Regions from separate parts of the Homo sapiens genome. Here all the other regions are linked to region 1. The links are contacts of gene promoters, found by promoter capture Hi-C in human tissues and cell types (Jung and others, 2019). All regions are on one chromosome and are shown on one strand. Each heading gives the region's core, a stretch centred on a gene start or on the middle of the fragment in contact. The rest is flanking DNA. Distances are from core to core; before and after follow the strand shown. Region 1 holds the start of PSMB7 (proteasome 20S subunit beta 7). Region 2 holds the start of MIR181A2 (microRNA 181a-2). Region 3 overlaps NR6A1 (nuclear receptor subfamily 6 group A member 1). Region 4 overlaps NR6A1 (nuclear receptor subfamily 6 group A member 1). Region 5 overlaps NR6A1 (nuclear receptor subfamily 6 group A member 1).

What was found. Contacts are between HindIII fragments. The study calls those that stand out against the background at their distance.
Region 2: a fragment that was not itself captured here is called in contact with the fragment with the promoter of PSMB7 in region 1 in 2 of the 25 tissues and cell types used here (dorsolateral prefrontal cortex and mesenchymal stem cells).
Region 3: a contact is called between a fragment that was not itself captured here and the fragment with the promoter of PSMB7 in region 1, in 4 of the 25 tissues and cell types used here (dorsolateral prefrontal cortex, hippocampus, mesenchymal stem cells and 1 more).
Region 4: a contact is called between a fragment that was not itself captured here and the fragment with the promoter of PSMB7 in region 1, in 1 of the 25 tissues and cell types used here (dorsolateral prefrontal cortex).
Region 5: a contact is called between a fragment that was not itself captured here and the fragment with the promoter of PSMB7 in region 1, in 1 of the 25 tissues and cell types used here (dorsolateral prefrontal cortex).

What each region holds. Positions count from the first base shown.
Region 1 is chr9:124,413,996-124,416,695 of GRCh38, forward strand. It overlaps PSMB7 (proteasome 20S subunit beta 7), which reads right to left and starts at 1,447. Exons shown (of 8, transcript NM_002799.4): 1 at 1,369-1,447; 2 at 847-940; 3 at 1-10. The coding sequence starts at 1,430. RefSeq lists an enhancer at 1,354-1,403. The HindIII fragment of the contact is 5,075 bases long and covers 182-2,700 here.
Region 2 is chr9:124,692,151-124,694,850 of GRCh38, forward strand. All of the region lies in intron 2 of NR6A1 (nuclear receptor subfamily 6 group A member 1), which reads right to left. All of the region lies in intron 1 of MIR181A2HG (MIR181A2 host gene), which reads left to right. MIR181A2 (microRNA 181a-2) reads left to right here and starts at 292; the gene lies at 292-401. It overlaps MIR181B2 (microRNA 181b-2), which reads left to right and starts at 1,560; the gene lies at 1,560-1,648. The HindIII fragment of the contact is 6,533 bases long and covers 1-2,700 here.
Region 3 is chr9:124,730,275-124,732,974 of GRCh38, forward strand. The region is part of intron 2 of NR6A1 (nuclear receptor subfamily 6 group A member 1); the gene reads right to left. Among named protein-coding and RNA genes, the nearest start is that of MIR181B2, 38 kb to the left of the region's middle. The HindIII fragment of the contact is 7,392 bases long and covers 1-2,700 here.
Region 4 is chr9:124,674,604-124,677,303 of GRCh38, forward strand. All of the region lies in intron 2 of NR6A1 (nuclear receptor subfamily 6 group A member 1), which reads right to left. The region is part of intron 1 of MIR181A2HG (MIR181A2 host gene); the gene reads left to right. Among named protein-coding and RNA genes, the nearest start is that of MIR181A2, 16 kb to the right of the region's middle. The HindIII fragment of the contact is 3,220 bases long and covers 1-2,700 here.
Region 5 is chr9:124,712,082-124,714,781 of GRCh38, forward strand. The region is part of intron 2 of NR6A1 (nuclear receptor subfamily 6 group A member 1); the gene reads right to left. LOC124902269 (a long non-coding RNA gene) reads right to left here. Exons shown (of 2, transcript XR_007061772.1): 2 at 1,253-1,754. Among named protein-coding and RNA genes, the nearest start is that of MIR181B2, 20 kb to the left of the region's middle. The HindIII fragment of the contact is 6,244 bases long and covers 1-2,700 here.

The sequences.
Region 1 (2,700 bases), core at 197-2,696:
CTATGCCATCCTATTAAAAAAAAAAGTTTTTAAACAATTTTACAAATATAAGCCAACCGCAACTCTCTATTCTACTTTAGGGAATACTATGTTGGCCATACCACATGCTCCCCTAATCTCAAAACGCCAGCCAAAACTCATAGCAAAAATATTGTGCTACACTTTCAGGATTTAAGAAAAGGTTTCTTAGTAAATGCTACTAATTGAATCCTGAGTAGGTAAGAATTATTCCCATTTTCAAGTGAGGCTCAGGTGTCGGGTAAATTCCTTGTAAATCAGAGCTAATCTGGAAAAAACCTGGATTAAGACTCAGGAATCTTTCCATTAAATTAGCCATCACTATCAATTTCCTTTTAAAACATGTTGCTTTTCTTTAAAACATGTTGCACAGGTAATCATTATCCCTTTTGACGTTTCCAACAATTTAAGGCAGGAGTTATCTCCATTTGATGCATCTGAAGGTGTCCCTGTGAGAAGGAAAGTGAGCTGCCAGAAGTTGGAATCAGCACTATAGAGTTCAAAGGTGAGACAGACCTGTCTGACCCCAAATCTCGTGATCTCCCATCACATACTTCAGCTTCCTAAACTAGTAATTAAGAAGCTAACTGACCTGTTTAAAAAAAAAAAAAAGAAAGAAAGAAAAAACCTCAGCAAAGTGAGGAAAGAACATAAACTGTTAAGAAGCACACAAAACCTGACAAAAGCAGTCGCTCCTGAAAGACGGTCTCCTGATGTATTCTATAGCATTTGCCTTTCCAGACCGAGCCGGGAGAGACACCGGAAGCCAAGTGTTCTGATTCCTGTTGCCGGTTCAGTCACTGCTGCTCTTAGCCTAACCCGGCTTACCTTATAGACCACCCCAGCGATGGTCGTGCCAGTTTTCCGGACCTTTGGAAGCTTGTATCCCCTCTTTGCAAAATCGGCTTCCAAGACGGCATTCCTAAGAGCAAATGAGAGAATCAAGTGTTGAAGGGCAGGACCACATCGCACAGCACTGGCATGAAAAGTGCCTAACAGAGAACTCAGGAAAGCTGCTACTTGTTTTCACGCCCATCTGTTTAATGAATCCTCCCACCATCAGCACTGTTCTCCCGTTTTCCAACGAAGACAGTCTTACAAAGGGGCCGTGACGTGCCTTAGGAGACGGAGATAAACGGTGGCCGAGTGCGCTGGGAAGGTGGGAGAGCAGACCCGGCTTCAGGAGAAACCCACGCCCAGGCCCTGATTCCCCTGAGTCACACTAGCCGCGGGCCACAGGCCCCGCCATGAATTCTTCCCTCAGAATTCTCGTATCACACCTTGGCCCAGCTCCCACCCGAGCACCGCACTCTTCTCCCTCCCTGAACCAAGCCCCAAGCAAGGCGGCACCTGCGGCAGTTATCAAAAGAGAAGCCTCCAACTGGTGGAGCATACACCGACACAGCCGCCATCTTCCCAAGAAAGCAGTTCCGGGTCGGAGGCGGGTGCAAACAAAAAGAGCCGAGCACTTCCGGCGTCGCTGGCAACGGGGGCTGAAGGGGCGGGGCAAACGCCGCACTAGAACGATTGATCTTAGAGATTCTGGTTCCTAGAGAGGCCAGAGATGTTTGAAGTATATCGCCCCAAGTGGCACGGAGGAGAAAGTGACACCCGGAACCGGGAAAGGACTTGTCCAAGGTGAACGCACCAGCGACCAGGTCTCCTGCCGCTCAGACTGGACTTGTTTCTACCGTTAATTTGGTTCTGCGGTGCTTCAGAGACAGACAGACCCAAGTCCCAGGCACAGCCCCACCACCCCCTTGCGTTAAGCAAGTCTCTTCAACTCTCTGAATCTGTTTCCTCCGCTATCAGATGGAGATTACAACCTAGCTCAAAAGGCTGCTGTAGAATGGCCATTAAGTCTGTGAAAAGAGGCTCAACATGATTAGTCATAGGGTGAATGCAAAGCACGACCACAGTGAGATCCCACTTCGCACCCGCTAGGATGGCCATAAACAAAAAGACAGAAAAGCGCAAGGGTTGCGAGAGTGTGGAGAAATTGGAACCCGAATACACGGCTGGTGAGAATGCAAAACGGTGCGGCTGCTCCGGAAAACAATTTGGCAGTTCCCCAAAAAGTATTATCCTCTTAGATACGCACCCGAGAGGGTTGAAGACATGTATTCACAAAAACTTCTACAAAGGTGAGGTAGAAGGCAGGCCTCCATTCAGAGATGGGGCTGAGATACCTGACCAAATTGAGGACTAGCTAAAACAGGGCCTGGACGGAAGCTGTCTTCCCTAAGACTCGCTCACCAGCCAGCCAAGTCAGTTTACCGTTGCCATGGCAACACTCGTGAGTTACCGCCCCTTTCCATGGCAGTGGCACCATAAACCAAAAGTTACTACCCCTTCCCTAGAAATGCCTGCATAAACCACCCCTTAATCTGCATGTAATTAAAAGTGTGTATAAATATGACAGCAAAACTGCCCTGACACTCTGCCTAAGAGGGTAACCCTGCTCTGCAGGAGCAGTCATGGAGCTGTAACGCCGCCACTTCAATAAAGCCGTTTTCTTCTGCCTCTAACTTGCCCTTGAATTCTTTCTTGGGCAAAGCCAAGAACCCTTGTGGGCTCAGCCGCACTTTGGGGCTTACCTGCCCTGCGTCAAAAGGGGTCTCATTGGCTGGGCGCGGTGTCTCACGCCTGTAATCCCAGCACTTTGGGAGGCCGAGGTGGGCG
Region 2 (2,700 bases), core at 28-2,527, 280 kb after region 1:
TGTTAATCTCTTACCCTTGTTAACAATTAAAATACTACTGCAAAATCAGGTATTTTACATTTTTAGAATCACAAAATAATACCATTCAAAGACATTTTCTCAGACATTCATTTGAGTCTGCTTGTACAAATTACTGCACAGTCTATCCCACAGTTCATTAGTTCTCTGCTGCACACAAATTGATTTTATAATTTAAATACTCTCGACTTGAAACCCAGAGAGGAATGTAAGAGCATCCATCAGCGGTGGTCTCACTGCTCACTGGTTCTTGGGATGTGGATGGGAGAATGAAGAAGGGCTATCAGGCCAGCCTTCAGAGGACTCCAAGGAACATTCAACGCTGTCGGTGAGTTTGGGATTTGAAAAAACCACTGACCGTTGACTGTACCTTGGGGTCCTTACAGACGACACTACATTTCCTGAAGCAAAAGAGCAAGCTGTACCTTCACATGTCACATGAGTTCACCAGAAATGGTCCTGCAATCCCCCAAATGTGGTCCAGTGAATTTTATTCCTACTGCTCACTGTTCCTTGCTTTCTGTTGTGTGTTTTATTATTATTTGTTTGTTTTTACAAAAAAAGTGTTTCATTTCAACAAGGTAAGGAGCAGTCCATGATGATATCTAATGTACCTACATGTCTCCTAGATATGCACCATTCTGGTGAGAAACAGGACGTAGCAAGTAAAAATTTATTAAAAATACGTATTTTGTTTTGGAATAAAATCCAGTTAAATAATTACTCCCATTTCTCCCACATCCTCTCAAAATTTTTAATTAGGGGCAAGGGGAGGATTTAATAAGCAAAAATAGCACAAAATTATCCAATTGTGACAGTTCTTATCACATTTCACTTTGAATTATAGTTAATATGGTTAATTTTTGATATCCCAGTTAGAGCATGAGCTATTGCCTTACTAGTGCCCACATATCCCCACATATGCTTATTTAAATGTTTGCTAAATTCAAGCAAAAACTTAGCCCTGGAGTCAGTCAGATCTGGGATGAATCTTGGCTCAAGCCCTTAACTAGTTATTTGACCCCCTAAGCAAGTGTCTCAGTTTTCTCACATATAAAACAGAGGCTAAGAGTACCTATCATGGAGTTTTGAGACTCAATGAGATAATATATAAGGTGCTTTGTACCATTACTAGCCCACAGCAAATGCTCAATATATGTAAGCTGTTATTATTAAACTCCAACATAATCTGCTAATTTACCTCAAAAAAGCACTCATACTTCTCAGTTCAAAACAAAGAGGAAAAGCAGGTCCCTCAGCTGTGGTTTACAGGTACTAATATGCAAGCACTGCCTGTGTGGCGCAGTGCTACCTGTGAGGTTCTCCAAGCACTCCTTCCTTCTCTGAACCACAGCTTCCTCATCTGCAATAACCTCCCAGCTCCAATGTCAATGTTATGGACACCTGTGTGGGCCCTCAATCATGCAGATGGCTGGTTACTAAGGGAGAAGCCAGACACACAGACTTCAAAGAACTGAGATGGAAAAGAAGAGCCAGGAGTCAGCCAGGGAGGGCAAAGGCAACCCCACCAACTGAAAACACTGATGGCTGCACTCAACATTCATTGCTGTCGGTGGGTTTGAGTCTGAATCAACTCACTGATCAATGAATGCAAACTGCGGACCAAACAACCCAAAGGAAGCAAAAGCATGTGCAGAGAGTCGCCTGAGTGCAGCAGCTACTGCTGTGAGTGGGAGCTGCTACTATTTCCAAAACACTAGCTAAAGCTTTTCTTGTTCTCCTTGGTTCTAACATGGAGTAAGTTCTCTAAATTCCTAGTACTTTTCTCCTTTTTCAATAGTCTAGATTTAAGGAAATGATATTTTATAGGAAGAATTAAATACATATCTGGATATCACATCACATTTTAAAAATCAGTACATTCAGAATTTCTAAACAGAATCATATGCTTATTATTTAGAAATTCAAATACAAAAATATACAAAGTAAAAATTGAAAATCCCTTCAATCATCATCTGCAATCCATTTCCTCGGAGGAAAACATGTATAATTATAATAAACTTATTAAGATAATAAATATCATAACTAGAATTTATTTTATATCCTTGAAGACCTTTATCCATACATACACAGATAAATAGCTGTAATTTTGCATGTTTTGGGGGGAGAGTGGCTTAGACAAAAATAAGCTCATTTTTACCTATTGTTCTATAATCTATTTTGTTATTCAGCTATATATCATAGACTTCCACAACAGTCTTTTATGTACTCGTCATTCTTTTAAATGGCTATATAGTATGACTTAATATGAATGTTCTGGTTATTATTCAGATGTACATCAATATTCTCTTTTGACAAAAACTATGAGGCTCATTCATTCTAACCTTTGCAAACCATGTCCCTCAAACAGGAAAAACACCTAAGTGAGATAGAAGATGTACATTTTTCTTAACAAAAAATTTAAATGTAGTATCAACTCTCTAAATCCTGTAACATGAGATAAGCCACTAAATCCCATGTTAAAGAAAGAAAAACAAGGCCCTTGGTCATGAATAATTTATCATACACTTAAGTCTAAGAAGAAGCAGATTCTCATAGCAAAAGTCAAATAAGACAGTAAGAGAAGAGTCTTGTCAAATTAGCCTTGACAATTAAGCAAGCCTTAATTTGACAAGGCTTTCCTGTCAAATTAGGAAGGAGAAGTGATGGGGTAATGAGACA
Region 3 (2,700 bases), core at 30-2,529, 320 kb after region 1:
AGGCTGGAATGCAGTGGTGTGATCATGGCTCAACTGCAGCCTCCTCCTCCTTAAGCAATCCTCCCACCTCACCTTCTCAAGTAGGTGGGACCACAAGCACATGCCACCACACCTGGATAATTTTTAAATTTTCTTTGCAGAGACGGGGCTCCCTATGTTGCCCAGGCTGGTCTCAAACTCCTGATCCTGGGCTCAAATGATCCTCCCGCTTTGGCCTCCCAAAGTGCTGGAATTACAGGCATGAGCCATCATGCCCTGCCAGTAAGTACAATTTTTTAGTCTTTTTTTTTTTTTTTTTTGGTGACTCCTATTCTATACTGATGTATAAAATTATGTCTCAATGTCTGTTCATTCTCATGGAATAGAGAGGTCTATAAATTGCCATATCTAGCTAGGAATTTTATGAAGAAATGTTTAATGAGCTGGTATTACTTAACCCAGAAAGAAGAATTCAACAATAATTTTTCTGAGAATATCAAGGACCTTTCTCAGAAAATGGGCATTAACCATTTTCAATTGCTACTAGGTGCAGAAAAAGAGAATACATTTGGGTACTAAATGCTAAACTAGAGGTTTATAAAATGTCCTTTCAAATATTTCCTAACACACTGATAACATACAAGAACAAGAGCTATACTTATTTATCTGTGTATCCCTAGAGTCTAGAGAACTGGGTGTGGAGCAGAGAGAACACTCAGTGCTTAACAAACTGAGTTATCAACTATCTAGCATGTTTTATGTGTAGTTGTCTGAAAGGTTACAGGGCATCTCAATGTCCTTCCTAGTGTTCAAAAATGCTTCTAAGAAAGGACCATGGCCAGGTGCAGTGGTTCACGCCTGTAATCCTAGCACTTTGGGAGGCCAAGGCAGGCGGATCACAAGGTCAGGAGTTTGAGACAAACCTGACCAATATGGTGAAACCCCGTCTCTACTAAAAATACAAAAATTAGCCAGCCATGGTTGCGCACGCCTGTAGTCCCAGCTACTCCGGAGGCTGATGCAGAAGAATCACTTGAACCCGGGAGTCAGAGGTTGCAGTGAGCTGACATCGTGCCACTGCACTCCAGCCTGGGTGACAGAGCGAAACTCCATCTCGAAAAAAAAAAAAAAAGAAAGGACCATGACTCCAGAAAAATAACTGAATTTATCTTTTCCTCCCCTAAGCAAAGGCTACTCATAAGAGAACAGAAAACACAGCTGGACCTCGAATAACACGTTTCAACTACACAGGTCCACTTCTACGCAGACTTTTTTCAATAAAAGTTATACCAGGTGTGCCTGCCTCTCCTGCCTCCCCTTTCACCTCCTCTACCTCTTTCACCTCTGCCACTCAAGAGCAAGACCAACCCCTCTTTCTCCTCCTTCAGCATGAAGGTGGTGAGGATGAAGACCTTAACGATGATTCACTTCTATTAATGAAGAGTAAATATATTTTGTCTTCCTTATGACTTTCTTAACAACATGTTCTCTTCTCTAGTGTACTTTATTGTAACAATATAGAATATAATACATATAACATACAAAATTATGTTAATCTACTGATTATGTTATCGGCCAGGCTTCTAGTCAACAGTAAGTTATTAATAAAGTTTTTGAGGAGTCAAAAGTTATAAGTGGACTTTCAACTGTGCAGGGGGTTGTCATCCCTAACCCCCACATTGTTTAAGGGTCAACCGTACTATATACACCTATAGCTGCTGGTATACTGGGGCTATACTATCTAATACAAAACTGATTCTGAAATTTACAACTTTTAAAAAGACAAATATATTTCCCTGGTGTTTGATAAGCATCATGAGAACTATTTTGCCTAAAAATTAATAAGTATTAGTTGCAACATGGACATTTATACTAATAAGGAGGGCAGAGGCGAATATGTGAGAAGGTCCACCACCTCAGAGCTTGAATCAGCTTCACGATGATGGAAAGGTAAGCTTTATCACTGATCTCAACAGCAGACTGGTGGCAAAGAGCCAGCCGTAACAAAGTACTACAATCAGAAAAATAACTCTAGACCATCTCATGGAATCTCAATCTAAATTATCATTTGACCTTTCGGCATTATAGCAAAATAAGGTCTGTATACACTGGATACTCCCATGTCCTATTTCTAACCATTATGACTATGTGTCCCAGAATGGTGCACGCCACCACATTTAGGAAGAACTGGAAATGCAAATGATTATCTATGATGAAGACTCACATAGTCCTGAAAAGCATCATTTAATTAGACCTTGAAATGGTAACTCTCATATCTTAACCATAAGACCGTAAATGAAAATTAAACTGTACTACAAAGGTTATCAATTATAATTTCTAAACTAAGCAAAATGCTTCTTTTAAAGAAATTATTTCAAAACTATCAATACTTTAGAAGTGTTTGTGAGTATACAGTTGTCCATGTGCATAAATGCAAGTACGAATTTTTTTTTTTTTTTTGAGGTGGAGTTTTGCTCTTGTCACCCAGGCTGGAGTGCAATGGCATGTTCTTGGCTCACTGCAACCTCTACTTCCCGGGTTCAAGCGATTCTTCAGCCTCAGCCTCCCGAGTAGCTGGGACTACAGGCACCCGCCACCACGCCCGGCTGATTTTTGTATTTTTGGTAGAGACAGGGTTTCACTATGTTGGCCAAGCTGGTCTTGAACTTCTGACTTCAGGTGATCCACCCGCCTCAGCCTCCCAAAGTGCTGGGATTACAG
Region 4 (2,700 bases), core at 116-2,615, 260 kb after region 1:
TTATCTTAATAACAGAGGTACACATGCTTTGAGGCTGCTGCACATCAAAGAAATGAATTTGGACATAAGCAACTTAATATTTTTCTTGTATTTAAGAGAGGCCCAATGGAAATATTCATATACCCATCTTCAAAAATGGGAGGAAAAAAGGCTGAAGGAATAGCAAATTACAACACAGGAACTATATAACTACTAAGTAAATGTGACCTCATCCATCCAGAAACAGGTATGAAGGAAATGTATTTTCTAGCTCCGCCTTAACCATGTAATCACTCAGATAAAGGAGTCCTACATTCCAGAGAGATAGAGGAAAATGATTTTTCTTGCTCTTACCTTACAACAAACTGATAACCAACACAGCTAACCTTTGTGCGTTCTCACATAATTTTTAAGTGAAGAAAACATCTCTTAGGACAAAATAATCAATTCTGGAAGCTTTCTTAGAAATGCCTTCCTGCCTTATACTAGTCTTTTCTTCCCATACTCCACAAACTTCATCCCTGGGCAAGTCAGAAGAGGTATCTAAAGACGCAAAAATGCAAGCAAGTAAACATTCTTTAGAACTGAAAGGAAATCCTATGCTTGTTCTTACTTAGAAAGTTATGGAGTTAATCCTGTGGACTGGCTTATGTTGCTGACTTACAAAGCAAACAAAATACTAAATTGTATAAGCAACAAATAAAATCAGTGAATTGTAATTTATCTGTCTAAGAGTCTGTGCCTCCTACCAGACTGTAACTTCTCGAAAAAATACTTTATTCATCACCAGCATCTAGCACATTGCCTGGCACACACAGAAGGTGTTCAATAAGTGTTGACTGAATACAGTCAGAGAGCACCTCCTCCTTGTACAAGGTACTGTTAGGTGGCAGACAGCCAATAATGGTTCACTTAGGTTGATGTCAAAGATTTCTGTTTGAAATTTAAATAAAGCCAGGTCTGGCTAAAGAGCTGCAGCTGTAGTTGTACCTGCTCTCAACCCAGATTTATTCCCAATAGCAAGGCTACCCTCTTCTGCATGCCTGCTGATATTTCTCTCAAATGATGAGAAGCCACTTCCCATGTGGCCCTAGTGTGTAATTCTTTCTGCTCAACAAAGGAGGCAGTCTAGAATCTTTGGTCATAAAAATATGATGGTTAGCAACAGGAAGCAACTGCTGGGCAAGCCTGGTACACTTCCAAATGAAATCTTTCCATCTAGAATTCTCAATTGAAGGTGCCAAACTCAATCCAGAACATCTGGATTTGCTCCTCTGGCTTCAAGCGTTCTCCAAGAGAGGCTAGGAAAAAGTACGCTCTTGCCGGTACGTGTAGGTGTAATTGTATACTCAAATATTGTACTTTGGATAAGAGTCCAAGACTTGGCAAATGGATGGAATGTAGCACATGGAACTGCCTGAATAGATACCCACGCTAAGAGAAGGGTTTTCTTGCAAAATATAAACAGGCAAGGTGTGAATTGCCCCTCTGTGTCACAAGTTAGAAGAATTCACCCAGGAGAATAAGTTCTTAGGAATCAGTGGGGGAATAATGCTCAGAAGCATGTGACAGGCAAAACAGCACCATTCCCTAGGAAAACGGCAAATTTATCAAACAATAACTCTTTACTTCTCCTACCCCAATAAGATAAATATATGTGATTATAATTTGATCCATACAGAAAAAAATATTGAGCTGCAAACTCTGGCAAACAGACAGTGCTGAAATTAAACATTATGAGCTTTGGCAGCTGCACTATGTACTCTCAGATTCTTACATCATTACTCTGGTAAGGGCCCCGTACCAAGCTGGCATAGTTCTGATGTGGTCTGGAGGGAGACTTTCTTGCCTTTTATTTAAAAAAAAAAATGACCTACATATAGCCTCTTTTCATGCCACAGGGAAATAAATATTTTCCTTTCCTCCAGATTTTGTTTTAAATGACAAAGCCATACTGCCAAGTTATTAAGAAAGTGTTAGAAATTATTATGAGATTTTTAAAGGCCACTTAGTACAAGCTCTAAAAAGACTTCTAAAACAGTAGACTTCAAAAACAGGATCTCTCCTAAAGTAGTGATAATCCATTTGTGGCAATAAAGAATCAGTTTATAGAGTGATGATTACTTTCTTGTTTATATTCTGACATTGGAAGTTTAAGTATCCAGATCCTCAGTAACCTCAAATGCAAAATGAAATAGTAATGTCACCGTTTGGGACAGTTCTTCTCACAATATCAGATATATGGCAAGTCCTCAGTAAGTACTAGACAAACTTATGAACGATAGAACCTTTAAAATTCGTGACTAGAGCAATCATATACTTAACAGAGCTAAGTGGTTACCTTTACTTCACTCATATTCAAGACTGAAAAGAATTTACACATAAGCTAGTTTCAAGATCAAAACTGCGTTTGTCCCTTTCAACAACTGATACCACACAAACAAGACTTCATTCTCTATTTCCCTCCAGTGGCATCCAAGAAAAACATAAAAATTCCAAATCTCAAAAATAACAGGTTAAAGAAGAAAAAAAAAGGCCTTAGTGCTCATAAACTAGATATATAATTTGACATGTTTAGAGTGATAGGATTATGTTTCCTATCATGAAATATTTCAAATTTTCATATATGGTCAAAATAGTATAGTAACTACCAAGCTTTACTTCCAAATTATTATTACTATTTCCTTTCTTCTGGAGACAGAGTCTCACTTTGTCACGCAG
Region 5 (2,700 bases), core at 151-2,650, 300 kb after region 1:
CCACCTAATGGACAAAACTGGCATACCCACCAATACATTAACACAGGTTCTCACCTCTGTGCTTCCAGAATAGACCACTAGATGGAGACTTAAAAACTGAAGGAGGAGGAGAGAGCGCTTATGCCCATCTAGAAAGCCTATTAGTTGGTTTATGACTACACGAAAAATTAAACTAATGCAGATTCAACAAATAAAAGGGAATATGCCCAAAATGAGAAATTAAGGAAAAATAAAAGTCTTCTGGAGGCTGGGTGTAATGGCTCACACCTGTAATCCCAGCACTTTGGGAGGCCGAGGCAAGGGGACCACTTGAGGCCAGGAGCTGGAGACCGGACTGGTCAACAGGGCGAAACCCCTTCTCTACTAAAAATACAAAAATTAGCCAGGTAGGTGACACACGCCTGTAGTCCCAGCTACTCAGGAGGCTAAGGCACAAGAATCGCCTGAACCTGGGAGGCGAAGGATGCAGTGAGCCAAGATCACGCCACTGCACTCCAGCCTGGGCGACAGAACAAGACCCTGTCTCAAAAAAAAAAAAAAGTCTTTTGAAGGCAGTATGGCACCAAGATTAAAACATAGGTTTTGGCTCTTCTACACATAATCACAAAAATCCATTAACAAAATATTACCAAGTTGAATTCAGCAACACTGGAAAATTATAATACATCACTGACCACATGAGGTCTATTTCAGCATTAAAAGGCTAGCCTGAGTTTCAAAATTCAATCAGTGTAATTCACCATATTAAGTCTAAACAATCTAGATGGAGAATTGGTATGAAAACATAACTGATTTACAGATTAGTAATTAATTATTAATCTGAAAACAACACCACTCATGATAAAAAAAACTCTTAGCAAACTAGCAACAGCATTTTCTCAAGTTGATAAAGGGCATCTACAAAAACCCTACAGCTTCCTGATTTCAAAATTTACTACAAAGCTACAGTAATCAAAACAGTCTGGTATTACCATAATGACAGACATAGACCAATGGAATAAAATAGGGAGCCCAGTACTAAACCCTCATATATATGGTCAAACAATTTTTGTCAAGGTTACCAAGACCACTCAATGGAGAAAGAATAATCACATGGTACTGATAAAATAATATCCACATGAGAAAAAAATGAAGCTGGCCTTTACCTTTATACCATACACAAAAATTAACTCAAAATCGATCAAAGACTTAAACATAAGCCCTAAACTATAAAACTTTTAGAAAAAAAAAACAGGAGATAGCTTCATGACAATGGGTTTGGCAATGGTTTATTGGATATGATACAAAAAGCATAGGCAACAAAAGAAAAAACTGCTCGATAACATGAAAATGTAAAACTTTTGTGCATCGACGGACACAACAGAATGAAAAAGCAACCTGCAGAATGGATGAAAATATTTGCAAATCATGTATCTGTTAAGAGATTAATATACAGAACACAGAAAGAACTCGTATAACTGAAACAAAAACCCATAAAGAATCCAATTAAATAGGCAAAAGACCTCAATAAACATTTCTCCAAAGAAGACACACAAATGGTCAATAAGCACATGAAAAGATGCTCAATATCACTAATCATTAGGGAAATGCAAATCAAAGCCACAATGAGATATTGTCTCACAACCATTAGGAGAGCTACTATCAAAAACACAGTAAATAAGTGTTGGTGAGGATGTGGAGAAATTGGAACCCTAGAGCACTGCTGATGAGAACGTAAAGTGGGGCGGCAGCTATGGAAAACAGTATGGTGATTCCTGAAAAATTAAAAACAGAATTACCATAGGGTCCAGCAATTCCACTTCCAGGTATACACCCCAAAGAATTGAAAGTAGGGACTTGAAGAGAGACATCCATGTATACTCATGTTTACAGCAGCATTATTCACAATAACCAAATGGTGAAAGCAACCCAAGTGTCCATCAATAGGTGAATGGATCAACAAAATGTGGTATATACATACAATGCAATCTTATTCAGCCTCAAAAATGAAGGAAATTCTAACACTATACAACATAGATAAACTTTAGGCACATTATGCTAAGGGAAATAAGCCAGTTACAAAAGGACAAAACTGTATGATTCCACTTAAATGAGGTACCTAGAGTAGACAAATTCATAGAGACAAAAAGTAGAATGGTGGTTACCAGGAGCAGGGGAGAATGGTTATTGTTAATGGGTACAGAGCTTCAGTTTTGCAATATGAGAAGAGTTATGTGGATGGATGCTGGTGATAGCTGCACAACCAGTGTGAATGTACTTAATGCCACTGACCAGCACATTTAAATATGGTTAAGATGGTAAATGCTACGTCATGTATATTTTACCAGAACTCTACAAAATAAAAGAAAGCCCAATAGAGGTGTCATCATACTTGATACTGAAATTGAACTCCTTCCCCCTAAGATTAAGAACAAGGTGAGAACATCACTCTCACCATTTCTATCTATCATTGTACTGGAAATCTTAGCCAGTGCAATAAGAAAAATAAATAAGTCATAAACATCAAAAAGGAAGAAGTAAACTCTCTTTATTCACAGATGTACACATAAAAAGTCCCAAGAAATTTATTTTTTAAAGTTACTAGAACTAACAAATTTAACAATGTCACAAGATACAAATACATAAAAATCAACTGCATTTATATATACTAGCAACAATTGGAAAATAAAATTTAAAAATAATATCATTTACTATAACATT